Linked DNA regions of Homo sapiens: regions 1 and 2 are each linked to region 3. The links are contacts of gene promoters, found by promoter capture Hi-C in blood cells and fetal thymus (Javierre and others, 2016). All regions are on one chromosome and are shown on one strand. Each heading gives the region's core, a stretch centred on a gene start or on the middle of the fragment in contact. The rest is flanking DNA. Distances are from core to core; before and after follow the strand shown. Region 1 overlaps LRRFIP1 (LRR binding FLII interacting protein 1). Region 2 has its middle 13 kb from the start of RAB17-DT. Region 3 holds the start of PER2 (period circadian regulator 2).

What was found. The method cuts DNA at HindIII sites, captures the fragments that hold promoters and counts their contacts. A CHiCAGO score of 5 or more calls a contact.
Region 1: a fragment that was not itself captured here is called in contact with the fragment with the promoter of PER2 in region 3 in 1 of 17 cell types (neutrophils); the score reaches 5.7 in neutrophils.
Region 2: a fragment that was not itself captured here is called in contact with the fragment with the promoter of PER2 in region 3 in 1 of 17 cell types (total B cells); the score reaches 6.5 in total B cells.

Annotation. Positions count from the first base shown.
Region 1 is chr2:237,660,795-237,664,602 of GRCh38, reverse strand. All of the region lies in intron 1 of LRRFIP1 (LRR binding FLII interacting protein 1), which reads right to left. Among named protein-coding and RNA genes, the nearest start is that of LRRFIP1, 35 kb to the right of the region's middle. RefSeq lists enhancers at 1-392, 1,379-1,920. The HindIII fragment of the contact is 4,313 bases long and covers 1-3,808 here.
Region 2 is chr2:237,601,628-237,606,079 of GRCh38, reverse strand. No RefSeq gene overlaps it. Among named protein-coding and RNA genes, the nearest start is that of RAB17-DT, 13 kb to the right of the region's middle. RefSeq lists a silencer at 1,652-1,832 and an enhancer at 1,484-1,987. The HindIII fragment of the contact is 981 bases long and covers 2,449-3,429 here.
Region 3 is chr2:238,286,741-238,290,563 of GRCh38, reverse strand. It overlaps PER2 (period circadian regulator 2), which reads left to right and starts at 1,954. Exons shown (of 23, transcript NM_022817.3): 1 at 1,954-2,215. LOC112268433 (a long non-coding RNA gene) reads right to left here and starts at 2,695. Exons shown (of 3, transcript XR_002959458.2): 1 at 2,667-2,695. RefSeq lists enhancers at 391-440, 1,515-2,409, 2,494-3,016 and silencers at 1,207-1,476, 1,817-1,966. The HindIII fragment of the contact is 4,985 bases long and covers 1-3,823 here.

The DNA.
Region 1 (3,808 bases), core at 414-2,913, 630 kb after region 3:
AAAAACACCCTTCCAGAGGCCAGACCCTTGCACTTCAAAAAAAGTCCATTCAGTCTTGGAGCAGCACTCCTTGCCAGGAAGTTCTCTTCACGCCTCCCTGGAGCTGTTACCCGCATACACAACAACGTGACTTTTCTGTTCCCGAGGCGGCATGCCAGCAGCTGAACACACTGCCACACCGCCGAGGCCCCGTCATTTGCTGATGGACCTCAGTCCAGTCAGAGGTACAATCCAGAACTGAATACCAGCAACCAGCACACTGTGGACAGGCCAGGCGGCAGGCGCACCTGCGGATGGAAACGCAGTGGAGAACGCCGCCGGCCTCTTTGCCAAGAACTCAATCTCCCTGGCTTGGGCCCCCTCCTCTCCACTGCCAGTCCCACTGCGGCCCCAGCCAGGACTAAGCCTCTGTGGTCCTTCTCCCCATGACTTCACTAAAACGGCTCTGGCTGAGGCCGCCAGGACCCTCCCTTTTGCAAGGTGCAAGTGACATTCTTCCCCGGGTCTCCCTTGGGTCTCTCTGCAGCATGGACATGGCTGTTTCCCCTCTGCCCCCACCCTTCACCCTGCTCCTCCCTCCCAGTGCCCTGAGGGCGACCCTTCCTCTGCTCACCCCTTCCTTGTTTCTGAGGTTCCCGGGGCTCCACCCTGGGTACTCTGCTCCACTGACCTACTTAGGAGACCTCATGCAACTATGTGGCTTTGACCACCCTGACCGCTGACGGCTCCCCTCTCCCCTATGGCCCAGGCGAATGCACGTGAACCTTTGCCAGACCTTTCCCTGTGGGTAGTGCTCAGCTGCCTCAAGGCAACATTCCCAGAACAGAACTGAACTCTTCCCCGGGTCCCCGCTCCACCAACCCAGTCAGTTCCACAGTGTCTGTGAGTGATAACGCAACATCACACCATCCTCCCCAAGCACCCTGTCAGAGGCCCGGAAGTCATTCCATGTGCCTCGTCCATTAAGGCTGAGCTGTTTAGGCTGCTGTAGCAGAAGGGCATAGACTAGGTGGCTTATAAACAACAGAAATTAACTTCCCCCAGTTCCAGAGGCTGTGAAGCCCAAGATCAAGGTGCCAGCAGATTCAGTGTCTGGGGAGGGCCCCCTTTCTTGTTCATAGAAGGGGTGAGGGCCCCCTTCCCATTGTGTCCTCACATGGCGGGATGGGGGGGGAAAGAACTCCCCGGGTTTGTTTTATAAGGGCACTAATCTCATTTACTCTCATGCCCTAATCACCTCCTAAAAGCTCCCACCTCCTAATACAGTCAGCTTGGTGGTTAGGATTTCTATACATGAATTTAGGGGAGACACAAACGTTCAGACTACAGCACCTTCTTTCACTCCGCATCTCACAGAATGCTCACAATCTTACTCATTTCTTTTAAACTAAAAATTCTAATAGTTTAGTTAAACTGATGCAGGGCAGGCGAGCCCTAAAGTGGAGCTTAGCCCATCTGGGTTCTTGGCCTTGCTCAGGAAAGAATTCAAGGGCAAGTCATAGGTAGAAGAAAACAGCTTTACTGAAGTGTCAGTGTTCCAGCTCCCTGCCGGCTCCCGCAGGGCAGGGCTACCCCGCAGGCAGAGAGCAGCACCTCAGGGCAGTTTTGCAGTCCTGTTTATACTCACTTGTAATTGCATGCAGATTAAGGAGCGGTTTATGCAAGGAAGAGGTAGTAATCACTGGGTCATTGCCGTGGAAAGGAGCGGTAATGCCTGGGTGCCGTCATGGCAACGGTAAATTGACATAGCGCTGGTGGGCGTGTCTGATTGAAGACTGCTTTCCCCACCGGGCCTGTTTTAGCTAGTCCTCAATCTGGCCCAGTGTCCAAGCCCCGCCTCTGGAGTCAAGTCCCGCCTCCTACCTCAGAAGCAGTTCCAGTTTTTAATGTTAACCAACACAGGGAAAGTGAGGTTTCACTATAAATAGCCACACCGAGAATGGGAACATAAAACTGTCCCAGTTATAGGGATTATTAATGGATTTCGCTGCGGAACAAACAAGGATTTCAGGTCAGTTTATGACATATTGTTATATATCTTCAAATCCTAAGAGAAAGAAAAAAAATACATTCAGACATTGGACCTGAAAAAAAAATTGTCCTTATCTTTTCTAAGGGGTTAAGAGCACATGGCACACACCACACCTTAGCACCCTGAAGAATAAAATCATATACGTGATGGTGAGAATGTAAGAACCCTGCACTGCGTTCAGTAACATCCCCCAAAAGTTCATGTCCACCCAGAACCCGTGGATGGGGCCTTATTTGGACATAGGCTTTTTGCGTGTACAATCAAGTTAAGATGAGGTCGTACTAGATTAGGGTGGGCCCTCATTCAATGACTTTCTTATAAGGAAACAGAAATTTGCACACAGAGACACAAATACCCAGGGAGGGGGCCACGTGGAGACGGAGGCAGAGCCTGGTGTGATGTGTCTACAAGCCAGAGGGCCGAGGGCTGCCAGCAGCACCAGAAGCTGGAGAGACGCCTGGAACACCTTCCCCTCAGAGCCTCCAGAAGGAACCCACCTGGCCCAATACCTCGACTTTGGACTTCCGGTCTCCGGAACTGTGAGAGAATACAGTTCTGTTATTTTAAGTCACCCAGTTTGTGGCACTTTGTTATGGCATCCCTACAGACCAACACCTGCATGCTGTCATGGGTCACGCTAGGTGCACGAGGACTCAGTCTTCAGCCAGATTTTACATTTTGTCCAAAGGAATCATGGCAACACCTATTTTGGGGGCTGATAGGTACCTGGGTCAGGAGAGCCTATGCCACTCAGCTGGGCCACAGAACTACAGCGGATTGACTCAGGAAACAGGAAAACAGTGCCCTCTCTCTTCCTGGAGCTGTCCCCATGCACAGCACAGAGAATGTGTGCCCACTCCCGTGTTGCACCAGGGACACAACTGTCCCCCTGGAATGTGCTTTCGGAACGTGCATGGCTCTGGGACAGATGTTAGGTATCACTGAAAAATTCCATCGACAGTGAGGACAAGGATGGTTTCATGGATGAGGACAGAGATGCACATAGGGCAGTTTGCCCTGGGCAGGAACAGAAGGTGAACCAGGGGCCGAGAGCGAGGTGGAAGGAAAGGGATTTGCTCACATCTGGAAGGAAGGAGGGAGTCTGGGGAGGGCAGCCCGGCCAGCTGGAGGGCTTTGGGGAACAAAAAGTTTCCACTGTCTGGGAGCATCAGAGGGCTTGTGCTCTAAGGAGGAGAGGGACTGGCAGGCATGGTGGCATCTGGGTGGACTGGACACACAGTCCAGCCTCCATTATGTGGCCCACCCCACTGTGTCCTCCAGAATTAGCAGCAGCCAGGGGAAGCCAAGCCTCCAAGGCAGAGGGAGAATCATCAGAGGGCCCAGGAAACAGCTCAATCACTTCAGGGGCTTCTGCCCAGGATCCCCCAGGGTCTCCCTGCGTGGCCCCAGATATCCTTCCCTGTTTGTTCACAGTGCTGATGAGGCACCCACTGTAGCAAGGCCTCTCCCCGCAGCCCAACCCAGGAAGCGGTGGGAGAGCAGAGATGGCATGTTAGTTTCTCGGGGCACAGGGACTGCGTGCCTCTGGAGCCAGGCTGAGCAATAATCTCGCCTCTTTCACAAGAGGAGATCCGAGAGCTTCCTCCTCCCTCTCCCAGGATGACAGTGGGTCCTGCAGGTGGTCAGGTGTCCCGACGCTGTATATTGAAGGTGATGGAATATATAAACTCAAAAACGCATGCTTTTCTCCCTTTTTCTGCCACAGACATGTAGCACCGTGCGCTGTTCTGCCCTTGCTTTTTTCACTGAACTTGT
Region 2 (4,452 bases), core at 1,690-4,189, 690 kb after region 3:
TCACTGCAACCTCCAATTCCTGGGTTTAGGTGATTCTCCTGCCTCTGCCTCCCGAGTAGCTGGGATTACAGGCATGTGCCACCACGCCCGGCTAGTTTTTGTATTTTTAGTAGAGACACGGTTTCACCATGTTGGGCAGGCTGGTCTCAAACCCCTGACCTCGTGATCCACTTGCCTCAGACTCCCAAAATGCTGGGATTACAGGCCTGAGCCACCGCGCCTGGCCCATTTGCTTTTCTTTTAAGAGACAGGGTCTCGCACTAGCACCCAGGCTGGAGTGCGGTGGCATGATCTCGGTTCACTGCAGCCGCGACCTCCCAGGCACAAGCAATCTTCCCACCTCTGCCTCCCAAGTAGCTGGGACTATAGGCACACGCTACTAATCCCAGCTAATTTTTGTATTTTTTTTTTTTTGTAGAGACAAGATCTGTCTATGTTGCCCAGGCTGGTTTCAAACTCCTAGGCTCAAGTGATCTTTCCCCCTTGGCCTCCCAAAGTCCTGTGATTACAGACCTGAGCTACTGTGCCTGGCCAACCAATTTGCTTTTCACAGAGACAAATCTCCACAAAAGGCTGACCTTGTCATGAATATTTATGACATCTAAGGCATTATGGGTTGAACTGTCTCTCTCTAGAATTCATATGTCCAAGTCCTAACCTCCATACCTCAGAATGTAATCTTACCTGGGGAGAAGGTCTCTATGGTGAGGTCACCAGGATAGGCCCTAAACCAATATGACCATGTCCTTATGAAAAGGGTAAATTTAGACACGCAGACACACACATGCCATGTGACATGAAGGCGGCGATAGTGATGCTTCCACAAGCCAAGGAACACCAAGAATTCCCAGCGAAGCACCGGGAGTATGGAACAGATTCTCTGCAGAGCTTCCAGGAGGAGCTGCCCTGCCACCTTCTGGCCTCTTCTCGGGCTTCTGGCCTCCAGGACTGCGAGACAATCAGTTCCTATTGTTTAGGCCACTCAGGTTGTGATAGGTGGTTACAGTAGCCCTGGCAAAGTCACACACAGGGCTGGGGGCAGCATTGTTTCTCCGCTTTCTTTCTTTTTTTTCTTTTGAGACGGAGTCTAACTCTGTCACACAGGCTGGAGTGCAGTGGCATGATCTCGGCTCACCGCAACCTTGGCCTCCTGGGTTCAAGCGATTCTCCTGCCTCAGCCTCCTGAGTAGGTGGGATTACAGGCACGTGCCACCACACCTGGCTAATTTTTGTATTTTTAGTAGATACGGGGTTTCGCCATATTGGCCAGGCTGGTCTTGAACTCCTGACCTCAGGTGATCCACCCGCCTCGGCCTCCCAAAGCTGGGATTACAGTCGTGAGCCACCACACCCGGCCGTTTCTCCATTTTCTACGGGAGACATGTTTTCCACATGTTTGGACCGTCCTTTGGGGATAACTGTGAGTGAGCATCTCACTTGAGAACCTCCCTCACATCCTCCACGTACTTCGCCCACGGTGGGGAGGTGGGGAGGTGGGCCCAGCAGCCTGTGGCCTCGGTGTGCTTGCTGCACATGGAGTGGACCCCATGTGGCCTCCTCCAGTGAGCCTCCAGGCTTGGGATGGGCCAGGTGCTGGAGCAAGTCCATTCCAGAGCTTGGTTCTTTTAAAAATTTCTATAATATATATACATATATTTTATAGACAGAGTCTTGCTCTGTTGCCCAGGCTGGAGTGCAGTGGCACGATCATAGCTCACTGCAACTTTGAACTCCTGGGCTTAAAGGATCCTCCTCCCTTAGCCTGCCAAGTAGCTGGCAGCTAATTAAAAAAAAAAAAGGGTGTTTTTAAAAAAAAAAAAAAATTGATTGGGGGGATCTCACTATGTTGCCCAGGCTGGTCTCGAGCCCCTGGCCTCAAGCCATCCTCTCGCCTCAGGCTCCCAAAGTGCTGGGCTTACAGAGTGAGCCACCGTGCTGGCCAGAGCCTGGTTCTTAGTGGGCCAGTCAGGGAATTTCAATGAAAAGTAAGGAGCCAAAGAAAGAAGACAAGGAAGTTGAAATAGGTCGGGGCTGAGATAATCCTTAGAGATCAACATCTCGGGTCTCAGTTGTTTATCTAAACCGAGCTGAATTCCAACCCCCACCCACACCTCCTGCATCTTCCCGGGGCTCTCAGCTTTGCTTTTTCAGAACGGTTTTCATTGTGTGTGTTGCCGCTGGCTGGATGTGAGGGTGAGTGATTTTACCGTAGCATCAAGTGTAGCCCAGAGCAACAGATGAACTCCGGAACAGAGTCATTTCCTGGATTCTGCCCTCTGGGTTCTAGATGCTTCCTGACAGTTCCGTTTCTTGACGTGCAGTTGCCGAGTCAAAGGCTGTGTTGTTGAATTCATTGCTACGCATCCCAGGTTTGCCCTCTCAGAAAACTGCACTGCCAGACAGTCTCAGCAACGGTTGGTGGACAGTCTCTACTGTTTTGCCAAAGCTTGGATGTGATGAGGCTTTGCCAATCTGACCTCCATGCTGACCGGCTCCTGCACGTGCTGGTGAGGCCGAACGCTCCTGCTAGCGCTGCCTGCACACCTGGGACTCACTTTCAGCGAATTGTCTGGCTGTGCCTTTGTCCATTTTTTGCTGATTTATAAATCAAGGATTTTAAAGCCACATGTTTGTGGCAGTTATTGTCCCAGCATTTTGTTTTATCCATATGCTTTTCTTGATATACAGGTGGCTTTCATTTGCAGAGGTCATTATTTCCTCCCTCTTATGGTTTGGTTTTTGCATTTGCCTCTGTGGGGTAGGTTAAGAAAGTTGTGGATTTGAATCCTTGTTCGATAGCTACGTAACTCTGGGGAATGTACTTAATCTCTCTGAGCCTCAATTTTCTCATCCGTAAAATGGGGATAACAATATCCACCTCCCTGGTTTGTTGGTGTGTATGGAAAAACTCTCTCAAACTGCGTTTTTCCTCTTTCACTCCACCACCACCTCCACAATCATCAACACAGAAGACGTCTGCAATAAAAGGCGTGGGGGTTTCCCCACACATTAAGCAGTGGGCCCCAGCTGGGTGTTCAATTCTAACACTGTCCACCTGGAGATAGCACCAGATCCCACTGGGTGGGGGGCTCAGTCCCCACGACTGCCACCCACCCCAGACACCAGTCATAAGCCTGGGCCTCTCGAACTTCTGACGGATGGGCTTCAAGTTGGGGTTCCCATGACCTCCTCTCTGTGTTGATCAATTTGCTGGAGCAGCTCACTGAACTCAGGGAAATAACTATGTTTGCTGGCTTATTGTAAAGGATGTTACAAAGGACACAGATGAAGAGATGCGTAGTGCGAAGTATGGGGGAAGGGGCAGGGAGCTTCCAAGCCCTCCCTGGACACATCATCCTCTGGGAACCTCCACAAAGTCAGCTCTCCACGGCTCCCTGAACCCAGTCCTCTTGGGTTTTTATGGAAGCTTCATGTTGACAGAATTCCTTCCCGCATGGTATGAGGCGGGACCCTCCCAGGGGAGGCTGTTAAGACCTACAGTCAGAAAAGTGAGGGAAGGTTAGAGTCCTGCCTTGTGGCAGGAAAAAGGAAGGCGAGAGGGTCAGAGAGGTTCTGTTACCTGAGGGTGGCGCCCAGGATTAGCACATCCAACATTATAACAGAAAACTGTAACAAGGGCTAAGTGGAGCTATGAGCCAGAAACTGTGGATGAAAAAATATATACATATATATATATATGAACATCAGAGTTGGTCATTTTATAATTTACATAAACACTGGGCAGGGAGTGTAATAAGCACTTAATAAATGATACCTTTCCATATTCCTTGATTTTAAGTCAACAAATGTGATGTGGTTCATCAGCTACTATTTAGATATCTTGAGAAAGACAGAAGACCTCAAGACGCAGGTCCTGTTCTTGAAGGAAAGGAGAAGAGAACCCTTGTCTGGGGAGCATGCTCTGCACTTAGGCGACCAGCAGGATTGGAAGGGACCATCAGTGTGGTCCTGGAGGAATCCATCAATGGAGGCCCCGAGGGGCCGTGAAGGACTTGCCCATGTAAACTGCAGGGCCTGGTCTGCGGCTCCCACCCCCGTGCACCTCACCTCCAGTTAAGTCCTGCAGCTTATCACCTCAGTGGAGAGACAAAGCAGTGCTTTGGAATGTGACCCCTTTGATAGCTTGAATGTTGCAGGTTCCGCAGTGGCTTTCATGCTAGTCAGGGGGCAGTGGAGAGTGGCAGCACGTCAGCTGAGTGTAGGGCTACCAAGTCTTGGGCCAGGCAGGACTTGAGCAGCTTGGGGAGTCGCCCAGAGGAGGGATCCTGGGGGTAGCTGGCCAAAGCCAAGCTGGTTAAGATAGGTGGCCAGTGATAGCTGCCAAGGCTAGGAGGAACAGGACTGCTCTATGTATTAGGCAAAGGAAGTTATGTCCAGAGTCCAGAAGGGCAGGAAATAGCAACCCAGATTAGAGGACGGTAGTCGGGCCTC
Region 3 (3,823 bases), core at 705-3,204:
AGATTTATTGGTGGAAATAAAAAAGGCTACATTTAGGGAGGAAATGTGACATCAGGTAGCAGGCTGAATATGGAGCAAGACCCAGCAAAAGCATGAAGAAGAATCTCGGTAAGGTGTGGATGAGCTGTCTGTTTACTCTTGTTTCCAGAACAATGGAGCTCCCCATTGACGTCAATGGGAGGGAAGAAACAAAAGAGCCTTTGGGTGTGTGCAGGGCGCAGCAGCCGGGCCTGGGTTTGCTTGGCATTTGTGTGTGTATGTGTTAGGGAGAGGGGGCGGGGAGTGTGTCGAGGTGTCAATGTCAGAGGAACAGGAGGAGGGGCCACCTGACTGAGTGTGTGAACAGCATGCAGGCCTCCCGGGGCTTCTGTGGGAAGGGCTGCCCCGATGAACTTGGTATTTGCCCTGGTTTGCATCTGAGAAGTTGCACACACACCTTGTCAAGTAGAAGAGAAGGAGTTATCACACTCAGGAATTCCTGATGTGGGTTCATAACTTTTCCTTCTGTCCCATCCCTGGTCCCCAGGTGAGTCCAGGTAAAGAAGAACAAGAAGAGTAAAGAGAGATGCTGCGGGCTCCAGCTTCTTGGACAGTCTCGCCTTCCCCATGAGAGCCTACACATTCAGAGCCTGCTGCGTGGGAGCCTGAAAGCTCCTTCCTGTCCTGTAAGTCTCAGGCTTCTACCCAGACCCGGGGAAATTGTACTCTTTCTCCTGACACTTTAAATGGAAGTTTAGAGGCTCCACATGCCCCACACAATGCTTACCGAAACAAGGTGATGCAGGGTCCCGCGCTGTCTCCCAGGACAACCTCCTACCCCTGGCTCCTGCGTCTCTACGGCTTGCACCGTTGTAAGGCGTCCCTTTCTCAGGGCCCATCTTACCCGCCTTGGAAGTGCTGCCTTTCTCACGGAGCCTGTGGGGATAGCTCTGGTTAATTTATAGCCCACATCGCCCAATTTAGCATTTGATTAAGTTTCCTTTTTATGAGATAGTCCTTTCTCCCTAGTGATGCGCTTGGGGGCAGGGACAACATCATTTCTTTCTTTTGTACCTCCCCAGAGTAACAATGACTCTATTTCCTGAACCAAAAATTGCAACACGTGGTCTCAAAAATAAGAAAGGTCACTTGGTAGCTGCCGGGACAAGTGTCGACCACAGGCACCTCAGAGGCCCGGGTGGGCGTGCCCCCGGAGCTGCTGCAGGGCGGTGCTGCCACCTTCTCCTGGGCTGCTCCGGGGCCCCGCGATGAATGAGTGAGTGAATGAGTAAATGAATGAATGTGAATGCGTGAATGAAGCATGCCGCGCGGACTTTCCCGCGGCCCTGGCCGCTGGGGGCGCGCCTCTGGCCGGTGGCCGGAGGTGGAGGTCTCCCTCGTCCGGCTTCGGCGCGCCGGGTCTGCCAGGCCGGCCGGAGGTGCGCAGGAGCCCCGCGCCCAGCTCCCCCGCCCGCAATGGTACGCGCCACTCCGCGCTCCCCGAGCTGGCGGGCTTGAGGGCGTAGTGAATGGAAGGCGCCGACGCCGGAAGTGGATGAGACCACTAGGGAGGACGACGGGTAGCACGAACGCGCCGCGTCTCCATTGAGGAACCGACGAGGTGAACATGGAGTTCCATGTGCGTCTTATGTAAAAAGAGCGACGGGCGCGGCCACCAATGGGCGCGCGGCGTTCGTAGGCCCCGCCCCTCATGTATGCAGATGAGACGGAGTCGCGGCCAATGGCGGAGGCCGGGGGCGGGCGCGGCGCGCGCGGTCACGTTTTCCACTATGTGACAGCGGCGACTCGGCCGCGGCGGAGGCGGCGGCGCTGAGGGGATACGTGCAGCTGTGGGCGGCGGCGGCGGGCGCGGGGCCGGGCGGACAGAGCCGCGAGTCGGCGGAGGGACCGGCGGACGGGCTGACGCGGGCGCGGCCGGCGGTAAGTGGCGCGGCGCGGCCCCGCTGCGGCTTACGTAACCGCCGCCGGCGCGCGGGCCTCGGGCAGGTCGGGGTCCCAGCGCCGGCTCGGGCAGCGGAGGCGCCGCCGGAAGTTCCTTGGGCTGCTGGACTCCTCGGCTTGAAACGGCGCCGGCGTGGGGGCGTGTGCCCTTGGCCCTGTCCCAGGTGGAGAGTGGTCGAGCCGCGCGCAGGGTGCGCTCGTTTGAACTGCGGTGACACCGAGGGTTGGGGACTCGAACCCCCGCTTCGCAGCTCAGGAGCCTGAGGTCCGAAAGGTGAGGCAGCGTGTGTAGGGCACCGAGCTACCGAGTGACTGCGCGCGGGCTGCGGTTCCGTGGGCGATTCTCTTTTGGGAACCCTCCCTCCCCTCGCATGGGGAAGGCCAAGGAAACCAAGGGTCAGCGCAGCCGGCCCTGGGATCTGGAGGACCCTCGGGGAGCTGACTGCCTCTTCTGAGGCCACAGGGCTAAGTCCTGGGCTGGGGAAGGGCCATGGAGGGGCGCTGATCTAGGAGCTTTTCCTGGACACCCACGGGTCTCCTGGAATGGGTGATCAGAGGGACAAGGAAGTCCCGGTGCCAAGCCAGGCCTGGGAACCTGAGGGCGGGGAGACCCTCTAATGTTCGCCCCTTTGCCTCCCCTGGACCACCCTGTATTAATTCCCTTTCCCCGGACTGGATAGAAGGGAATGGGGGTGTCCACTCTTTGGTGCAGCAGTCGCGCCTACCTTCTGGGATGTACTTTGGCTGCCAAGTCCCAGACATAGACCAGGGGGTGGGAGGTGGCCTGCTTCCCCCTTCAGGAAGGCCAGGGTAAGGGATGACGAGTTGGTTGCCAGGGTTTCTGTAACCTACACAGAAGGAACCCGTTTGGAAAGCTGATTCATACAGAACAACAGAGCCAGAAGGCACCCTGAAAATCACCCAGAGTAACCCCTCAGCCTGACAGATGAGCAAACTGAGGCCCAGGCCCAGGCTGTCTGCAGGATCTTCCCATCGTCCTGGGGCAGGATGAGCTTCAGAGGTTCAGTGATGGCCTCCACTTGCGTGCTGAATCCTGGGTGGGCTGGAATTTGGGAGGAAGGGCCTTAAGTCCGGGAAATGTGTTAAGAACCCCACACGGTGGCTAAAGCCCCACATGGACGCCTCTCACCTGTATATGGCACAGCAGGACTGCTAGACTTCTTGGCCCACCCTCTACCCCCACCTGGGGCTTCTGGTCCCAGGCTGGGTGTGCCTGAGAAGAAAACAGGACTCTACCTGAAGGCTTTATTTGGAAATTGAGTTTTAAAATACAAGGTGAATTGATTTTTGTGTGCTATATGACTATAATGAAGAAAGGGACTCCGTTTTTTTTGAGTGGAAGCTGTGTGGTGTGCCAGCGCGGGGATGGCACCGTGGGTGTTTGCAGTTATCTGTCACTGTCGCCTTGGTATGATTCATTGGTACAGAACTAACGCAGCCCTGGCTTTCTGTGGAGACTGGAGTGCCAGGTGGGAAGGGGGAGCCCTGTGTCAGCCAGCTGGCTGCTGCTGGCTCCCAGTCTGGGCCTCAGTTTCCTTGTTTGTTTGGAGGGGCTCAGATTGGGCAGTCTCAGAGGTCTACTTTAATTCCCAGGTTTTTGGTTTTCTGTTACCCTACAGATGATTTTTCCCAGGTTTCTCGCAGGAGACAGAGGCTTCTGATATGCTCTTGCCTTTGGGCCAAGTAATGTTCTCCTGTGAGCCACGTCTGCAGTGCTTACAAGGAAAAAGGAAAGATTCCTCTCCTGTGCACTACTTCTCGTACCCACTGAACTTTCTCAAAAATACTGGTAGTCACACTGCTGTTTTTAAGCGATGATGTAACTTCACCAGGACTCGGCAAACCACGGCTCTGTCAGGTC